Linked DNA regions of Homo sapiens: region 2 is linked to region 1. Evidence: promoter capture Hi-C in 16 types of primary human blood cells and fetal thymus (Javierre and others, 2016). All regions are on one chromosome and are shown on one strand. Each heading gives the region's core, a stretch centred on a gene start or on the middle of the fragment in contact. The rest is flanking DNA. Distances are from core to core; before and after follow the strand shown. Region 1 holds the start of MAGI1 (membrane associated guanylate kinase, WW and PDZ domain containing 1). Region 2 overlaps MAGI1 (membrane associated guanylate kinase, WW and PDZ domain containing 1).

The links. The method cuts DNA at HindIII sites, captures the fragments that hold promoters and counts their contacts. A CHiCAGO score of 5 or more calls a contact.
Region 2: a fragment that was not itself captured here is called in contact with the fragment with the promoter of MAGI1 in region 1 in 1 of 17 cell types (endothelial precursors); the score reaches 6.0 in endothelial precursors.

The regions. Positions count from the first base shown.
Region 1 is chr3:66,036,142-66,041,149 of GRCh38, forward strand. MAGI1 (membrane associated guanylate kinase, WW and PDZ domain containing 1) reads right to left here and starts at 2,777. Exons shown (of 23, transcript NM_001033057.2): 1 at 1,855-2,777. The coding sequence starts at 2,167. It overlaps LOC105377128 (a long non-coding RNA gene), which reads left to right and starts at 2,812. Exons shown (of 2, transcript XR_001740440.2): 1 at 2,812-3,057; 2 at 3,911-4,153. RefSeq lists enhancers at 1-136, 137-964, 965-1,792 and a silencer at 2,745-2,864. The HindIII fragment of the contact is 5,984 bases long and covers 1-4,021 here.
Region 2 is chr3:65,770,529-65,775,227 of GRCh38, forward strand. The region is part of intron 1 of MAGI1 (membrane associated guanylate kinase, WW and PDZ domain containing 1); the gene reads right to left. All of the region lies in intron 1 of LOC107986018 (a long non-coding RNA gene), which reads right to left. Among named protein-coding and RNA genes, the nearest start is that of MAGI1-AS1, 120 kb to the right of the region's middle. The HindIII fragment of the contact is 1,906 bases long and covers 2,152-4,057 here.

The DNA of each region.
Region 1 (5,008 bases), core at 1,527-4,026:
ATAATTATCCAGGTTCCTGACACTAAAAACTAGTTTCAGAAATAAATAGCTGCTAAAATCAATTCAAACATAAATAGCTAATCTTTATGGAGCACTTACTATGTACAGGCACTGTTGGGTGCACTTTCCACGTGTTAGCTTATGTAATACCCACAGGAAAGCCAGTGTGAGGAAGACGCATTGTCAGGCCAGGAAAGGTTTTGAACCTCAAGCAAAACCTGGAGAGGTATGCCAGGAATGAGGCACAATCTCTCCCTTTAATGAGCTCACTACCTTGTATGGAAATGAGGACCTAACTCAGAGTTCAGAGTAAGTAAAAAAGCCACAAAGTAGACATTAAAGGAGCCCAAAGGAGGAAGAATTTGTGCATCCTAGCAGGATTCTGGAGGGCTTCTTGGAGGAGGTATCCCAGTGGAGAATGAAGTCATAAATACAAGGAGCTTTCCATAGCTAAGTGTCAGCTCCTCAGCTCCCAAAGCTGCTAAAAGGCCAGGCGAGTCGGCCGCCCCCTCCTCCATTTCATCTGGAGCACGCCTGTTTCCAAGAGAGGACCAGCTAGGCCCAGCCCTTCCTTTGACACATTCCTCCAGCTGCTGCCTGTCCTTATGGAAACACATGGGAACTTTTCACCATGTTCAACTTCACGACTTCCTTCGGTGCTTTCACTGGGGAGAACCTGCGTCATGGCACTTGCTTGCACAAGGGAGCCCTTTAAGGGCCTCAGCTGGTCTCCATTGGGTTGACATGAGGACAGCCCCTTGTCTGTACCAAAGTGAGATGTAAGGGACCTACATCACCAGCAGCCAGCAAATGCATCTTTTAAAAGGCCTCTACAGATTTCTGAGAGAGGAATTTGCTTCCACTCCCTCCTCAGGAATCAGCCCCTTCAGTGCGGTAGGGTCATCCCCCCACTCCTTCCTCCTCCATACTTAAGGCTCTGCAGCAAGGGCTCAAACCCTCGCTTTTGGCAACTGTGTGACCTTGAGCAAGTCACTTAACCAGTATCAATCCCAGTTTCCTTATCTCTAATTTGGGGTATATAAATAAGAACAACTCGTTCTTAGAACTGTTGTGAATCGGAGTGAGATAGTGCAAGTAAAGTATTTTACACAGAGCCGGGCATGTAGTAAACCAACAATGAATAGTAGCTTCATTTTCATCATCAATAATGACGATGATGGTGGTGGTGGGAGGGTAAACTTGGACCCGATTCGAGCTAAAAGCAAGCACCCCTTCCCCCTCTCCCCCTCCCAAGTGTATGGCTGAGCCACACGGTGGAGACACATGCGTCATCCGGCTGAGGGGTGAATGCAGGCTCTTCTGGCGGCGGGCTCAGGAACCGCCAGGCAGTGGTGTCCTAGCTCACCTGGAGGGGTCGCGGGGTGAAGCAGATTTTCTGATGGGGGAGGTCCAATAAACTACAGACCCTCTCTTTCTGTATACCCACTCAGCAGGTATGGAAACTGACTCGTGGCCAAAGAACGCCAGCTGCATCCCTCCCCCAAGGAGCCAGGACAGCGTCCACCATGCCCCTGACTCAGTTCCCCAACTCTCTCTCGGGTGCAGGCGAGACTGCGCTGCACTTAGTGGCGGAGATAACAGGTTGGCCAGCCAGGCCTGAGAAACGTCCCCCCGCTACCTTGCGCAAACCCAGCCCCCTCTTCGAAACGCAGGTGGGCAAACAACCCTCAACCTCGCAACAACTTTGTGTATTTCACCGCCACCACAGGGCGCACGGCCTCAACTTCTCTTCACTGCGCTCCGAGGAGGGAAGCAGGAAATCGAGAATAAGGGGCAGCCCACAGACCACCCTCCTTTTCTCGGGGCGCCCCCCAAAGGCGCGCCCTGCCTTACCTTGTCTGACGGCCTTGAAGGTGACGGCCTCCTTGCAGCTGTCGATGACCCCCAGCACGTCATAGCGGGGCAAGCCGGACACCCGGACCCCCTGCACCTCCAGAAGCAGCTCCCCTTCGCCCAGCCTCGGGCCCTCGCCGCCGCCGGGAAGCCCCGCTGCCTCGACCGCCGCCACCGCTCCGACGTACGGAAACTCCCCGTGCTCCGCGCCTCCCAGCACCGTCACCCCCAGCTCGCCCTGGGGTCCCCGCTTCACGGTGCATTCGTGAACCCTGCTAGTCCAGTGGTTCTTCTTCTGGATCACTTTGGACATGATGAGTTACACCCCTCCTCCAAAAAAATAAAACGAGAGACAGGTGCCCCCCACAGCACGAGCCCCCAAGCCTCCGCTTGTTCATGGGAGAAACATCTCTCCCCAAATCACAAAACAGGAGAGAGAAACTTGGCAGCCTCGCTCCCCTGCACACGCTCGCGCACTCAAGCCATCATAAAACAAACTTTCTGGGCTTCCCCGCGAGCCCCGCACAGGCGCCCGCGAGCTTTGTTTGCATTCCGGTGCCTCTGGGTCCACGTTCCGGCGCCCGCCCGTGCTCTCCCGGACCAGAGTCCACTCTGCGCCGCTCGGGTTATTTTTTTTTCCTTCCTTCCTTTCTCTCTTGCCTTTTACAAATGCGGTGCCTCCTCTTTGCCTCCCGCCCGGCTCGCCTCTCCTCGCTGGCAGGCTGTTACTGAGGGTGAGGGAAGCCCTTCCAGCCAGTTGCCGGGAGCCCTGAAGACGCGGTGGCGGGGCGGCGGGGAGCAGGGCGGGAGGTAAGTGCTCGCGGCCCCTTTAAGCAGATACAAAGGCTCGGCTTGTTTTGTTACAGTTCATTCTATTCCGCGCCGCGGAGCGCAGCGGCCGGCGACAGGAGACGCGCGCGCATGCGCCCCGCGGCCGCCAGCCGGCCGGCCCACCCCTCCCCTCCTCCCCGAAGGGAGAGATTCCAACGTGCTTCCCGATGGGTCCTAAAACCGACCTGCCGGGAGAAGGCAACTCCCCCCCAACCCTTCCTGAACCCCTATCCTCTCTCCTTTTCTTTCAGTGCCCTGGACTCCGCGGATTCCTTTGGGGCTGGAGGGCCGCACACGTGTTTTACTCCAACTGTTTGCAACTTTTGAAACCCGGGCAATCTGGCTTTGGCATTTGAAAACCATTTCAAACAGGTGGGGGTTGGGGAGGCTGCCACACTCACCCTGGCGCTCACACTCACGCACACGCGCACGCACTCGCGCCGGCCCTAAGCCTCCTAACCGCCCTCGGCCAGTGGCTGGCCAGGCTGTCGGTCACCCAGCCCGGCTGGTTCGCCGCCCCCCTTGCCGCAGGTCCCACTGAAACCCCCGAGACCCGCCCCGGGGCGCTCGCCGCCTCCCTGCCTGCCCTGCGCTTGCGGGTTCGGGTCCTGGCGCGGGGTCTGCCAGGGTCTCTGCGACCCGGGGGAGGGGGACGGTGGGATCCTCCGGTTCCCCAACTGGGATCCCTGTGCGGGTCACACGCGCTCTTACACACACCCGCATCCTTAAACTTTGGGACCAACTTTTTAGGACACGGGAAACTACAGGCAAGAGAGAGAAGCCATGGTGCTAGTGTGGGTTCAGGTATTCAACCAAAAAAGAGATCCCTCTAGCTTTTCAACTGCCCTGCCAGCAGAGACTGCTGGACCCAGTCAATCATCTGCCCCGGCCTCAAGTTCCTGGCAGGGCCGAGAAGCCTGCGGACCTACTCCGGGGCCAGGAGATAAGGATCCCCGCCGGGCGCGGACATGCCCTGCGTCCTGGCGCCCGCGGGGGCGTGAGAGAACTCGGAATTCGCAGCCCGGGGGTAGCTGCGGCCTCCGGAGGTCGCCCGGGGGTGCGGATGGAGTGACTTCTGTCCCGGCGAGGTGGCGGACAGAAAGACTCCCATACCACAGGAAGGCTGCCCTTCCCAAATACTCCTCAAATCAGGCTGCTGAGTAGTCTCCCCAGCAGTTTGTTTTCCTCTTTAGTGATGTATAATTTTGTTCATCTTTGGTCACAGGAGAGATTCCAAGAAATGAGGGGGGTACGTTGAAACGATGAAGAAAGGATGGACACAGCAGTCGAGGTTGAGAGGTAGGCTCAGGGGTCCACCCTTGTGTGACCTTGAGCAAGCTTGGTGACCTCCGCGCCTCCGTTTCTCGCTGATCAAATAAGTAGAACAAGACCTCACAGGGTTCTTGGAAGTATTACGTGGGAAAACACTTATAAAGTGGCAAATAATAAAAACTCATTATATTCTTAATAGTAGTATTACTATTTGGGAAGAAAATTGGGAAATCATTTGGGGATTCAAGTTAGTAAGTATGATAATTTATCCTCTCCTTTCTAGAACTTAGAAAATATGGGCATACTTTGTGTGTTTGTTTTTTGATGGTGGTGGTGGTGTTTTTAGAAACGTGGTCTTGCTTTGTCCCCAAGCTGGAGTGCAGTAGCTCGACTAGCTGATTGTAACCTCGAACTTCTGGACTCAAGCAATCCTACCACCTCAGCCTCCTGAGTATCTGGAATTATAGGCACATGCCACCATGCCCAGCTAGTTTTATTTTTTTGATTTTTTGTAGACATGGGGGGGTCTCCCTATGTTGATTGCCCAGGCTGGTCTCAAACTCCTGGGCTCAAGCCAACCTCCTGACTCAGCTTCCCAAAGTGCTGGGGTTATAGATGTGAGCCACCATACCTGGTTTAGGCATACGTTTAAACATCCTTTTAAAGCATTGTAGGGTGCTATTCTAAGCTAATAAAAGTAAGGAGGGATGTTGATGCTTCTCTCTTGGGATATCCAGAACTGAAAATCCCATTGCATTGTTGTGTTTCTGAAAAAAGGAGGTGACCAATTTTCCATGGCTTTGCTTGGTGAGAGGAACTTTGTCTCCAGCTTTTTTTCAGAAGCAATCTAGGTCAATATGAACAGCACTTCAAAACATAAATTATCAAACCCGAGCACAGATCCAGCCAATCAGAATGTCAAGGAAGGGCTAAGTCATTTGAACTTTTAAGGTTCCCCTTATGTGTTGTTGGTACACAACGCTGAGCACCATAGGTTTAGTATCTTGATTCCAAAGCATTGTTTGGGTCCCAGACCTTTTTGTCAAATAAA
Region 2 (4,699 bases), core at 1,855-4,354, 270 kb before region 1:
ATGATACCTGTGTGCCTCAAGTGTTTCTCAAAGTATGACTCACAAACCATGAGAGCTGAGGGACAGGTATGAAAGATGCTTTTAATAGGTAATGTGAGCATTAGAAAAATATTAGATGTTTGCATATAGGCGTATCCTTTTTTAGTAAATTATTATTCATTTATTTACTTATTTATTTTGAAGTGGAGTCTCGCTCTGTCACCAGGCTGGAGTGCAGTGGCACAATCTCAGCTCACTGCAACCTCTGACTCCCTGGTTCAAGCTATTCTCCTGCCTCAGCCTCCCAAGTAGCTGGGACTACAGGCATGTGCCACAATGCCTAGCTAATTTGTTTTTCTATTTTTAGTAGAGACGGGGTTTTCCCATGTTGGCCAGGATGGTCTTGATCTCCTAACCTCGTGATCCACCCACCTCGGCCTCCCAAAGTGCTGGGATTACAAACGCAAGCCACTACGCCCAGCAAATTATTTTATTTTTAAAGAAGATTACTGGGCAGGGTGTGGTATTACAGATTACACCTGTAATCCCAGCGCTTTGGGAGGCCAAGGCGGGCAGATCACCTGAGGCCAGGAGTTCGAGACCAGCCTGGCCAACATAGCGAAACCCCGTCTCTATTAAAAACACAAAAATTAGCCAGGCATGGTGGCATGCACCTGTAGTCCCAGCTACTCAGGAGGCTAAGGCAGAAGAATCGCTTGAACCCAGGAGGCAGAGGTTGCAGTGAGCCGAGATTGCACCACTGCACTCCAGCCTGGGTGACAGACAGTGAATCTGTCTCAATGTCTCAAAAAAAAAAAAAGAAGACGATTACTCAGCAAATATCAGCTCAGATAGTAGGTGAATATGAGGTGGAAAGTCCTAAAGGTGTTTCTTAATTATTTCAGGTAGTATAGCACCATGGGCAAGTGAGTATCTCTTTACAGAACACAGGGAAACATAGAGATATTTTATTTCATCATAAATAAAGAAAATTTTATAACTGTGTAATATAAAAGCACAACCACAGTTTACATGTCTGCAATTTGTTTAAAACTAGCTATCAAAATAAGGTATAACCAGCCTTCTCCAAATGTGATTAATAGTTATTTGCTATTTAGCTTATAATGTTTTATGTTCTGCTAGCATTAGAAAGCAAATAAGCTAGTCAGCACAAAAAATTTTGAAACCTTTAATAAAAAACAAAATCTAATGGATTTAATTTTATTCAATAAGCCTCATCATTATTTGACTCTCCTTCAGCCTAACCCAGGAATCCCCAGTGCTGTATGGAGCATGCTATGAGAAGCAGGGACTAGTTGGAGTCTGAAGTCCATTCTATGAGGCTAGATCATGTAAGACCTTAATTTATGGTTTGACTATTTTAAAAGAATACTGTGGCATCTTTTATAACCTGGCCAGGCGCGGTGGCTCACGCCTATAATCCCAGCACTTTGGGAGGCCGAGGCGGGTGGATCACAAGGTCAGGAGTTCAAGACAAGCCCGGCCAAGATGGTGAAACCCTGTCTCTACTAAAAATACAAAAATTTGCCAGACTTGGTGGTGGGTGCCTGTAATCCCAGGGAGAGGGTGAGGCAGGAGAATCGTTTGAACCTGGGAGGCGGAGGTTGCAGTGAACTGAGATCATGCCACTGCACTCCAGCTTGAGCGACAGAGCAAGACTCCGTCTCAAGAAAAAGAAAAAGAAAAAAAAGACAACAATATAACCTATTAGGCCCAATCCCTTCCTTGTAGGGGCCAATTTCCTCTTTCCTCATCAAAACAGAGACTTTATGAACCTGTGTCTCCCTGTTAACATTGTCAGACCATAGAGAAAAGCCATTCCTTCTTTGTCTCTTCTGCACTGATTCAGGGGGGACTTGAGTACAGCTGTCCATCATGAGACCCTGGCTTTTTCACCACAGGAGTGGGCATGGGACCTGGGATGGCCAATCACCACCAATGTAGGCAAAAGACCTAACTGAGCCAACTGAGTTCTCTGCAGAGAATGATCATGGTGCTACAAGGGAGGGACACCTCTTTCCCTGGGATCAGCAGCCATAAGAAGGAAGTAGGCCAGGAGCTGCCACATGGAGAACACTTCGTGAGAGTGAAGCAAACACAGAGGAAGCAAACAGGGAGCAGAGAAAAGGAAAACGAGACAGCATAAGGATAAGCTTCATAAATCAGGAAGCTAACAAACTTCAGGCTCACTGAGGGCAGTATTGCAGGTAAATGAGTCTAAGTTTGGGACAAGACATGTTTCCAGGGACCTGGTTTTACGACCCAGTTCCTGATTACTGCACAGGCTGATGAGAATTTCTTGCATTTACAAATGACAGAAAAGATGCACAGAAAGCAATTAACAGCATGTGAATTTAAGGAGGGGAAGCAATGGGAGGAGGCAAGAATTGAAAGACTACCAGATGAAAGTTACCAGGAAGCACAGAGGTCATGAGGTCTGCAGAACTGGGTGAAGATACAGACTCCACCTCACACCAGCGTCCTCTTTGATCTACCACGGACCAGTTTCCTCATCTGGTAAATGGCAAAAAAACTCTACCTGCCTGGCAGGACTGTTGTAAGAAATAAATGAAATCATATATGTAAAGTATTCATAAAAGTACCTGACAGAGTAGAAAAAGAGCTCTCAAGTTCTCACCAACCCTGAATCACTATGATGTAGGAGTAATATATTAAAACAACAGCCAACACCCCCAAAAGATTAACAACCTTAAGAGTAGGGGGTCGGGCACCATGGCTCACACCTGTAATCCAAGCACTTTGGAAAGCTGAGGCAGGAAGATCACTTGAGCCCAGGAGTTCAAGACTGGTCTAGTCAACACAGTGAAACCTCATCTCCATAAAAAATTAAAAAATTAGTCAGGCATGGCAGTGCATGCCTGTAGTCCCAGCTACTCAGGTGGCTGAGGCAGGAAGATCACTTGAGCCTGGGAGGTGGAGTTTGCAGTGAGCTATGATGGGGCCACTGCACTCCAGCCTATGCAACAGAGCAAGACACTGTCTCAAAAAAAAGACAAAAAAGAGTGGGGGTGGGATCACTGGTAGGTAAACTCAGAATACACTAGCATAAGGTCTATCCATATCACTCGGATTGTCTGGCTGTGATGCTAATGTATATGCCTTGGAATTCTAAGTTACAGTCTCCTTGTTTATCATCTGGAAGTTCACAAGCCTACCTTCTGGAGAACATGGTGAATTCAGAAGGAAAATGTAACTGTACTCTAATTTGCTTTCTTTGTGTCTCAGACTGCCTTGATTCGAGTGTTTATGCCTTAATCATACTTGAGTCTTTCATTTTAATGACTTTTTTAATTCGATATAAAGATTAAAATTTTTATATCTCATTGTGTTTTCCTTTTAATACAAGTTACTTGTGGTTGCTGAACAAGGTACAAATTAGAACAATTTCTTCCCGGGAACGATATGAAGGAAACTTCACAGGAAGAGAAAAAAATTCCAAAGGATAAACAGGTTTATTACAGAAATTACACACTACAGATTCCCATAATGCTAACCATCCCAGTAACTAAGTGGCACATGGGCATCTGTTTCCATAGCCCCAGATCCACTGGCTAGTTAAAAAAAAAAAAAAATTAATTGCTAACAATAAGGTTTTGTTCTAACATTGGGTGAAACTTTTCCTGGTTATGAGTTTCTATAACTGACATATAATTCCGGCTAAACCAAAATTCTGTTTTACACAAGCAAAGAAGTCCTGAGCAGGGTGAAATGGTAGTTATCATCTTTGATGTTACTGTCAAAGGCGTGGAAGATACTTATCTTAATACCACTGTTGTCTCCACCATCTTCCTGTGATGTTTTTCACCCATGAATTTATTGAAAATGTATTTGAAATGAGCAAAAATTGTGTCCTGTATCCCTCTTGGATAATTAGTTTCTGAAGTCCATGTTTGTTATATATTCAAAATCTTCCTGGGGCAAAATTCTCCTTATTTTGAATGTCCAGGTTTTGGTGGAAAAGAATTCATAATAAGTGCTTTCATACTTTCCTTATAATCCTGTTGGCTTGTGTCCCCTAAAAACTCAGAGTCTACCAAGCTTTTGTTCACATAGTTTATGGATATACTGTGCACCCATTCTTAACCCTGACATTTCACATCTGCTTGCCTAAGAGAAATGGCATACACAAAATGTTTTCCTATTTGGTGATGAACAAGTACATGGAACATATAGATCACAAGTGATTTTTAAGTAAGAGGAAAACAAGAAATTCAACCAAAGAGCCAACTAGTACTGGGCCTATGTTCTGTGCCTAACAAGGGGTTCTAAGATACACTAACTCGCCTTAGGCAATAGGGAGAAGATTTTGATTTCTGTCTTCACTATTGATAGCTACATGAGTCAATTACTTAGCCTTTCTAAGCTTCAGTTATAAAGTTAGGATAAAAATGTTGTCAACATCATGGGATAGTAGTGAAACAAGACAATGTATATGAATTTCATAGTACCCAGCATACAATAAGAGCTCAATAAATATTGGCTATTTTTATTATCATCATCATTCTTATCAACCCAAAGAGCCACATGAATGTAACCTACAGACTGATTGATCTCAAATGCATTTTTTTAATTCTAAAATTTCTGAAATCCTATGAATATAACAAAGTATTTTCAGGCTGGGCGTGGTGACTCCCACCTGTAATCCCAGCACTTTCTGAGGCCAAGACAGATAGATTCC